2 separate regions of the Homo sapiens genome follow, and region 1 is linked to region 2. The links are contacts of gene promoters, found by promoter capture Hi-C in blood cells and fetal thymus (Javierre and others, 2016). All regions are on one chromosome and are shown on one strand. The core of a region is centred on a gene start or on the middle of the fragment in contact, and the rest is flanking DNA. Distances in the headings are between cores, read along the strand shown.

Evidence for each region. The method cuts DNA at HindIII sites, captures the fragments that hold promoters and counts their contacts. A CHiCAGO score of 5 or more calls a contact.
Region 1: a fragment that was not itself captured here is called in contact with the fragment with the promoter of BPNT2 in region 2 in 3 of 17 cell types (non-activated CD4 T cells, naive CD8 T cells and total CD8 T cells); the score reaches 13.1 in non-activated CD4 T cells.

The regions. Positions count from the first base shown.
Region 1 is chr8:63,163,145-63,168,120 of GRCh38, reverse strand. YTHDF3-DT (YTHDF3 divergent transcript) reads left to right here. Exons shown (of 1, transcript NR_102684.1): 1 at 1-396. Among named protein-coding and RNA genes, the nearest start is that of YTHDF3-DT, 2.8 kb to the left of the region's middle. The HindIII fragment of the contact is 1,313 bases long and covers 1,006-2,318 here.
Region 2 is chr8:56,992,499-56,997,560 of GRCh38, reverse strand. BPNT2 (3'(2'), 5'-bisphosphate nucleotidase 2) reads left to right here and starts at 3,694. Exons shown (of 5, transcript NM_017813.5): 1 at 3,694-4,362. The coding sequence starts at 3,976. RefSeq lists a silencer at 3,578-4,137. The HindIII fragment of the contact is 2,693 bases long and covers 3,337-5,062 here.

The DNA of each region.
Region 1 (4,976 bases), core at 413-2,912, 6.2 Mb before region 2:
GGACGGAGTTGCTGGGTCCCCACAAGCCTGCCCGTGCAGCTGAAGTGGCAGGTTAGAGTTGTGGTACTCAAACTTAAGTCCAAGCAAACAGGAGGAGCACCGGCGCGGGTTCAGTCTTTCCAAACCCAGTTCAGCCGTAATCTCTGGAGTCAGACTTCGCCGCCCAATTCATGGATTTGTGCTTTTGACTCCGCTCTGATGTTTTTGAATGAATAAAGTTGCCTAGGATACTTAAGTATAGTTGCAGAGCGTCTTTTCGGCCCTGAAAAGAGGGAAAGTTTCCATTGAAAAAGTTCTTTATCACATATTGGCAAACCCAAAGTATGCCAATTTGCAACGTGTTGACATTTTCATTGAAATATCTACAATAAAGGCAAAGATTCCTTGTCTCAGTGATACAGAGTCCATGGAAGGAAATAATTTAAATGACCAAATACTTTCTGTACTTCAAAAACCATCAAATAAGTGATCATTTAGAAAGTAAAATTGTAGAATCATAAGATTAATTTTGTGGTTTACAGTGCAACAGTATCTTAGAAGCACTGAATAATAGAAAAACTTGAGAGGCCACTTTTCATGTAAATCACCAAGAGGCATTTTTAAGTTCTGGTTAGACAGTTTCCCTTGCCCTTCCATTCATTGCCACGGGTCCCAACCTAAGCACCCTTGCATTTCCCAAGACTCCCCCAACCCTTTCTGCTGTTGCTCTCAATGTCTCCCATCCTTCACTCCCAAACAGACCGTTTTAGTTTTAATGAGTTTGCTGGTACATGCTATGAGCCAGGAACTTGAGAGAGAATATACAAGAGGAGGCTTAAATCTTGCAAGCCTTGTCTTTGATCCTTAGTATCATGGCTTTGGAACCCAATCAATTCGAATTTAAATTCTAGTGGAGCAAGAATTAGTGTTATAATCTTGGTAAAGGCACTGAAACTTTCTAAGCTTTAGCTTCCTCATGAGTAAAATTAGGTCCTTCGTGTACAGTTCCTGACACAAAAGTAAGCTTTCAGCAAATTGTGGCTATATACAGGTAATGAATTGTTCCTTCGCTAAAAGATTCCCGGAAATAGTAATCGCTTACATTTATTGAGAACACATTATATGTCATGTTAATTCCCACAGCATCCTTGCAGAAGTGCCATTATAAAAACTGACACAGTGAGGTTAGGAAACACGCCACAAACAACACAGCTAGTCACTATGAGAGCCAGGATTTGAACTCAAGCAGTGTGACTCCCAAGTTCCCACTCTAATAACTACCATATAATACTGCCTAATGACATAATATTATGAGCTTCTATTCTCTTTCATTTTTGCTCAACAAACTTCTTTCTTTATGGCTTTTCTTCCTAGCAATAATACCTACCCTCAGATATAAACCTACTTAATTTAATATTAACAGACTTTTGAAGTACATCTGGGGACTACCTGAAACCATCTCCAATGCCTCCAGGAGTGTATTAGTCCGTTTTCATGCTGCTGATAAAGACATACCCGAGACTGAGAAGAGAAAGAGGGGTTAAATTGTGTTTAAAGTTCCACATGGCTGGGGAGGCCTCAGAATCACGGCAGGAGGCAAAAGCCACTTCTTACATGGAGGGCAGCAGGAGAAAATGAGGAAGAAGCAAAAGTGGGAAACCCCGATAAACCTATCAGATCTCATGAGACTTAATTCACTATAATGAGATTAGCATGGGAAATACCGGTCCCCATGATTCAATTACCTCCCCCTGGGTCCCTCCCACAACACGTGGGAATTCTGGGAGATAAATTCAAGTTGAGATTTGGGTGAGGACATAGCCAAACTATATCATTCTGCCCTGGCCCCTCCAAATCTCATTTCTTACATTTCAAAACCAATCATGCCTTCCCAACAGTACCCCAAAGTCTTAACTCATTTCAGCATTAACCCAAAAGTCTACAGTCCAAAGTCTCATCTGAGACAAGGCAAGTCCCTTTCGCCTATGAGCCTGTAAAATAAAAAGCAAGCCAGCTACTTCGTAGATACAAAGGGGGTACAGATATTGGGTAAATACAGCCATTCCAAATGGGAGAAATTGGCCAAAACAAAGGGGTTACAGGGCCCATGCAAAGGGCACTCAAATTTTAAAGCTCCAAAATGATCCCCTTTGACTCCAGGTCTCACATCCATGTCATGATGATGCAAGAGATGGGTTCCCATGGTCTTGGGCAAGGAGAATGGAGAGGATATTTTGAAAAATGTTGCCACAGAGCCTAGTTTCTAGGTAAAAATGCACTCTTCTAAAGAGCCACTAGGGTGTGTCAGTCTCCTGGAGCACACAGCACAGTGCAAAGCTTGGAAAGGAGAGGGCAGGCTGGATTTAAGGCCCCATTTTTCCCTCAGCCAACTTTGGTGTTTGTGTGTGCGTGTGTTGTTGTTATTTGTTGTTTTGTTGTTTAATTATAGCAACATGTTCTTGCTATGTTGCCCAGGCTGGTCTCCAACTCCTGGGCTCAAGGGATCCTCCCACCTTGGCCTCCCAAAGTGCTGAAATTACAGACAGTGAAGTTCCAGTCTGCACAACTGTAACTTCTGTATGATTACTTGTATCAGTTCAAATTAGGTTCAGCTACAAGTGGTATCAAGTTCAAAATAACAGGAGCCGAAGATAGAAATCTGTTTTTCTCATACAACAGCAGTCTGGATATACTCCAGGACTTGGGTTGCCATTGTATCAGATAATCCAGGCTTCTTCTAGTCTGTTGTTCCACCATCCTGTTATAAATAAAGTTTTGTTGCCACAAAAGAAGTAGCACTCGAATATAGAATTTACTTTTTAATTCTCAGCAAGGCAAGTTACTTCTACAGAAGGGTGCACCCTTACAGATGGAACAACGGTGAGCACAGACTTAGACAAGGGAAGGGAAGGGGTTCTATCCCTGACGCATGTGGCCCCTTCTGCTGTGTTGTTCCCCTATTGGCTAGGGTTAGACCGCACAGGCTAAACTAATTCTGACTGGCTAACTTAAAGAGACTGACAGGGTGAGTGGTTTGGCGGGAAAAATGGTTATGACAGAGCAGGTAATTGGAATGAGTCAGGGTGGAGTAGGTAATCAGAATGAGTCAGGATGGAGCAGGTAATCGAAAAAGGTTGCTTTATGAGGAAGTTAAGTTTAAAAGTAAAAGGCAAAGAATTGAACATACTGACATATTGATTCTTTGAAAAGAAATTTAGAACTCATATCTAACAATCCTCATTATGATACCTCTACCTGTGGCCCATGATGGCTGCTCAACTTCCAGCCATCCTAATCACATTCCCACCAGCAGAAAAACAAGGTTAAGAAAGCACATTGTTCTCCTTTAAGGACATTTTGTAGAAATTGCATTTTTCCCATTTGTATTAGTCTGTTTTTGCATCGCTACAGAGGAATACCCGAGACTGGGAAATTTATAAAGAAAAGAGGTTTCATTGACTTACTGTTCTGCAGGCTATTCAGGAAGCATGGTCCAGCATCTGCTTGGCTTCTGATGAGGCCTCAGAAAGCTTGCAATCATGGCAGAAGGCAAAGGGGGAGCTAGCTTACACATGACGAGAATGGATGCAAGAGTGAGATGGGGGAGGTGACACACACTTTTAAACAACCAGATCTTCTGTGAACTCAGAGAAAGAACTCAATCATCACCAAGGGGATGGTGCTAAACCATTCATGAAGGATCTGCCCCAGTGATCCAAATGCCTCTCCACCCTCAACATTGGGGATTACTTTTTTTTTTTTTTTTTTTGAGATGGAGTCTTGCTCTGTCGCCCAGGCTGGAGTGCAGTGGCACGATCTCGGCTCACTGTAAGCTCCGCCTCCCAGGTTCACACCATTCTCCTGCCTCAGCCTCCCAAGTAGCTGGGACTACAGGATCCTGCCACCACGCCCAGCTAATTTTTCATATTTTTAGTAGAGACGGGGTTTCACCGTGTTAGCCAGGATGGTCTCGATCTCCTGACCTTGTGATCCGCCCGCCTCGGCCTCCCAAAGTGCTGGGATTACAGGCTTGAGCCACCGCACCCGGCTGGGGATTACATTTAATTGTGAAATTTGGAGGGGACAAACATCCAAACTATATTAACATTTCTGGCTACTTTCTACTAACTAAAACATAGTTTCCTACAAGTATTTAAAGTTAAGTGAAAGCTGGAAAATATATTCTGAGTGGCCATGTGTTCAGTTAAAAATGAGGATGTTTATTACTAAGGAAGAGGGGGAGAATGGGTGGGGGGATACTTAGTAATAAACTCTGTGCCTAGTAATTTCCTGGATTTGCTTTGTTAACTAGCAGCACTTAAACTTATCTTTGAATTTTACCAGTGTTTAAGCCAAAATTTATAAGGCTTTCTGTTATCTTTAAGTAACATATATAGTACATGAACGAAGTGTAGAGAATTCAGCTTGAGGATTGATCGATGCACTTTTAAAAGGAGGTATTCTTAAATATCATGCATAAGGTAAAACCACTAATAGCTAAGAAGGACACTGAATAAAGTAAAAAATCAGTCAATCAATCTGCTTTGAAACAGAAAAGCCAAAACTTTTCCATTTATTCTTAAGTTTACTGCAGAGAAATTTACAATGGTAAGAAAAAGGCAGCAGAAAACATCAAATAACCTTAAGATTTGCTTAAAGCAATTTCTTCAAACTGTTTCCTTGGGACTAGCAGCAACATCTCCTAGGAACTTATTCAAATGCAGATTCTCAGGACTCAGCCCTTATTTACAGAATCAGAAGCTCTAGGGTTGGACCAAAAGTCCATGTATTAAAAAAAAAAAAAAAAAAAAGCCGACAGTGGTGGTGGTGTGTCTGGAATTGGTGGGTTCTTGGTCTCACTGTCTTCAAAAATGAAGCCGCGGACCCTCGCAGCGAGTGTTACAGCTCTTAAGGTGGCGCGTCTGGAGTCTGTCCCTTCTGATGTTCAGATGTGTTCGGAGTTTCTTCCTTCTGGTGGGTTCGTGGTCTCACTGGCT
Region 2 (5,062 bases), core at 2,445-4,944:
AGATCCTGTTTTAGAAAAAGACTATCCACAGTCTTGATATATGAAAGCCACTGTTTCTGAACTTCAATTATCTGCCAAAGAGAGAACTTTAATGGCAGAAGCAAACACCATATCACTGGATCTACTAAAAAAACAGAATTATTGTTTCTATAGGATATAATCACTTAAGGAAAGAATATGCAAATAATAATCTTCTTGGAAGTTTTATATTTTCAACATGTAAAATGCCATCAGTTCATTGTTTTCTTTCTCAGAAAGGTAGTAAAAACACTTTTTTTTTTTGAGATGAAGTCTGGCTCTGTCGCCCAGGCTGGAAGGCGCTCACCACCACGCCCAGCTAATTTTTTGTATTTTTTTTTTTTTTTTTTAGTAGAGACGGGGTTTCACCGTGTTAGCCAGGATGGTCTCGATCTCCTGACCTTGTGATCCACCCACCTCGGCCTCCAAAAGTGCTGGGATTACAGGCGTGAGCCACCGCGCCTGCCGTAAAAACACTTTTAATGAGGGTTCAACTACGCTGAACCTTTCATTAATTATATTGTACCCCTCCAATGCATATTTAAAGGAAAAAATACAAGGAAACTAACTGGCAGAGATTAATTTTTTGTTTTTTTTGAGATGGAGTCTCGGTCTGTCGCCCAGGCTGCAACCTCCACCTCCTGGGTTCAAAGGATTCTCCTGCCTCAGCCTCGCAAGTATCTGGGATTACAGGCGTGTGCCACCGTGCCTGGCTAATTTTTGTATATTTAGTAGATATGGGGTTTCACCATGTTGGCTAGGCTGGTCTTGAACTCCTGATCTTGTGATCTGCCTGCCTTGGCCTCCCAAAGTGCTGGGGCGTGAGCCACCATACCCGGCCAAGATTAATTTTTATAAAAAACATTTTCCAGGGTAAATTTGAAGGTCAGGAGTCATTGAAAGGAACCAAAATGTCCTTAACATCTAAGATGCTAATAATGTTTCATAAACTGATATTATTTATTCTGTACACATGGAGACTATAAGGAAAACTGGTATTTGTAGGAAAGGTAGCAATATCCAGACATTTAGAAGAGGTCCTATGTCTGATGTAATCAGAACTAGTGTGGGCCAGTTAACTGAGAAAACTGCATTAAAGTGGAGAATTACAGAAAAAAACTAGACAGCTTAACAATTGAACCTAAAACAAGTAAAAATATATCCACTTGTCTATCTTTTAAGGCAGGGTTTTTCATTGGGTATAGTTTCTAGTTGCAGTTTCAAGTTGTCTTACTTGCATCAGCCTACATAATTATTTTGCTTTAATTTAAAAAGTTAACACATTTCCTTTTTTTTTCTTTTTTGTTTCTTTTTTTTTTTTTTTTTTTTTTTGAGACGGAGTCGGAGTCTCACTCTGTCGCCCAGGCTGGAGTGCGGTGGCGCGATCTCGGTTCACTGCAAGCTCCGCCTCCCGGTTTCATGCCATTTCTCGCCTCAGCCTCCCGAGTAGCTGGGACTACACGCGCCCGCCGCCACACCCGGCTAATTTTTTTGTATTTTTAGTACAGACGGGGTTTCACCGTGTTAGCCAGGATGGTCTCGATCTCCTGACCTCGTGATCCACTCACCTCGGCCTCCCAAAGTGCTGGGATTACAGGCATGAGCCACCGCGCCCGGCCTAAAAGTTAACACATTTAATTGTTTATTTCAAAATCTTGGGGAAAACAATTTTAAGAATAGATGTAGATTATGTTTTAGGAACAGACTGTCCACAATCTTAATATGAAAGCCATATAATTTTCATGTGTATGTATGCATTGTTTGAAGCTTCTGACAACTTGATACTAAAAAAACAAGTTTCTTTCAATCAAATTCCTATAAAGGTTTTCTGACATCACTGTACCACATGTAATTAATCAAATGTTTTCTTATTGTCATAACTTCTTTTGTCGATTAAATGTTATCTGTTAATACCCATTCTCTATGATCAATTATCACTTGAGTGCTAGAACGCCTCTTGGAGCTACAATCTTTCAAGTGACTCCTTCTTTCCACATACCTTGGCATTTTCTCCCTCAAGTCTTAAATCCCTTTTTTGCAGTAGAAATGCTCCAGAGCTTTTAGTATTTCCCTCAGTGGTATACTGTGTATACTGCCACACTGAATGTGACCCTATATTATTCTCCAATATCCTTGGAAAATATTATTCCGTTTATTTTGAGAAATCTCAGACTTCCCAATGATGCTTTTAATATTGACATGATTACTATCCAACTCATCTTTTTGCTGCTGTCATAGTGTAGGTTGGGGTGGTTCTGTTTAACTTAAACCTTTATATTTCAACCCTGATGTTTATCTTTATCCCTGGGATGGGTTTTGAGAATTACTCTGTGACATTCACTTTTAGATATTTGAAAGCAGCTTTGCTTCATTGCAAAGTTACTCTCAAAAGCTGACAAGAAAGGCAATGCTAGTTCTTTAAGTTCTGGTGCTGTCAATACTCTAGGGATTGTTCTTTCACTGATTTGTATTTGTACTTGATTTTGTGCTGTGATTCTGGCAGGGAAATCACAGTGCTTTTGTTGTATGTGTATAATCTGGCAGTGCTTTTGTTGTATGTGTATAATCACATGCAAATTCTAGGGATGCCCTGAACTCTAAGTAAGCGGTAAAGGTCAGGCTCTACATGACTTGCTTAGCAATGGATGTTTAGAAGTTTGGTATACTTGCAGTTTTTCAGGTGGTTAATTCTAAAGTCCACTTAAAACCAATGCTGTTTTGCTATGAACAGTAAAACAGGCTACATTTTAAGTTGATTTATATAGATATTTTAACATTTAAGAACAATACTATACATCTTAATATTCACTTTTAAGATTAAAGATAAACTCATGAATACTTATAAAGTATTCACTATCATTCTAGCTAAGATCGGTGTTATAGTAGAAGGTAGTTATTTCTGTCAAAATACTTCGAGAGCCTACGCTGACTCAAAGATTACATGTTCTAGACTGACCATCTCCGGATAACCTCTATTTTAAGTGGACTCTGTCAAGCAATTCCTCTTCTTAAGCTCTGGTAGGAGAGCCAGGCTCGAGTACCCTTGGAAATGAGAGAAGCCTGGTTTGCTTTCTTTCATTATGAAAAACCCGGATCAAGGCATGTTTTTCAGCTGCTTCGAGGATGGTTTATTCTGGCAGGTGGAGGAGAGAAACTCTATACACACATAAGCATTTAGGGCACGACAAAGATGTCAACAGAATGAAGAGCCAAGTACAATTCTTCCCCTCACCGCCCAGTTCCCCGTCCTGCCGGGAAGAGCGCGGAGAAGCGACTTAAAGGTACAGGCTGTCTACACCCCCGCTGGCTAAAAAAGCTTGCAAATCAATCTTTTAAAATGGTTTATTGTGTTTTCCTCCATTCCTCAATAATCTGAGAGTGATGAGAAGACTAGACTGTTACTGTGGGTTTATTACAGCCAGCCATAGTCGTACAATGGGATATTTAATTTAAACACCCACAAGGCACTCAGCACAGCACACTGTCCTGTGCGGATTGCTGCTCGCCACTTCCAGGAATACCTTCCCACCCAGACCAAGGAAGGCAGCTCAGTCCAGCGCCTCCTGTCCCGCCCCGCCCCGCCCCAAGGGGAGGTGCCCAGCTCTCCCCGCCCCTCGCCCTCGCCCTCGCCCCGCCCCGTCGCGTAACCCGGATACACACCCACGCTCCCCTTTCACCTCGCGGCCGTAGGCTAACGTGGAAGTCGGACCAGCCGGCCGGCGGAAGAACCTAGAGCGCGCTGCCTGGCGAGTCAGGCGCGCGGGGCGGCGTTGGTGGTCTTCGCGGCGCAACTCGGCCTTTCCTGGGAGGGAGTGATGGGGCGCACCGGGGCCGGGGAGCGGGCGCCAGTGTAGCCCGCGCGGCGCCTGGCCCGGAGCGCGGCGGCTGCGGCGGCGGCGGCGGCGGGCGCTGGAGGCCTGTGAGAGCCGCAGCCCGGAGCGCCCGGCTTCCCACGCCATGGCCCCCATGGGCATCCGCCTTTCCCCACTGGGGGTGGCAGTGTTTTGCCTGCTGGGGCTCGGCGTGCTCTACCACCTCTACTCGGGCTTCTTGGCCGGCCGCTTCAGCCTCTTCGGCCTGGGCGGCGAGCCTGGCGGCGGCGCGGCGGGGCCCGCGGCCGCGGCCGATGGGGGCACCGTGGACTTGCGCGAGATGCTGGCTGTGTCAGTGCTGGCCGCAGTCCGCGGCGGCGACGAGGTGAGGCGCGTCCGCGAGAGCAACGTCCTCCACGAGAAGTCCAAGGGGAAGACGCGCGAGGGAGCCGAGGACAAGATGACCAGCGGCGACGTGCTGTCCAACCGCAAGATGTTCTACCTGCTCAAGACCGCCTTCCCCAGCGTCCAGGTGGGAGCCCACGGGCGGAGCGCCCACTCGAGCCGGGTAGCGCGTCTCGGCCCGTCGACTCTTAACAGTATGGGATGTGGAGCTTCTGGTTCCATTTTGTAGATGTGGAAATTGAGACGCAGAAGTTAACGTGCACAAGGTCAGACAGACAGCAGAGGAGCTGGGTGAGGTTGCACGTAGTCTGACTCAGGGCCCGTGCCCTTTTGGCTCGTCCTGGGTCGGGTGTGCGCCGTGTGTACCTGGGATCAGAAGGCCTTGAAACGAAAAGGCTGACAAAGTTAATTGCACCCGCAGCTTCAGGCTCCTCTGTAGAATTAAGGGGTTGGCTAAAATCCACCAAGACTCTCTATCCTTCCTTGATTTCATCCCTAGAAGGGTCGAAACTGGAGTACACATTTTCTGGGTGGCCTGCCAGTAGCCAGCTGAAAGACCGAGTCTTGTTGCAGAGCTGTTAGTGTGCGGGGCATTTGTGTGTGCGTGTGTGCGCTCGCGGGAGTCGGGGTGGGGGGGTGGGGGATGAGTATGCTCATTTCGCTGTCTTTTTGTCAGGACGCTCTAAAGTTTATAGTTTGCGGGCCCTTTAAGGAGGTACTTAGAAATATACCAGCTGTTGGTCCTACCTGGCCCTTGATTAAAGATCCATATTTACTCCAGAGAATAAGAATTAAATAACATTTGGCTTTTCTTTGGGTAGGTTTCT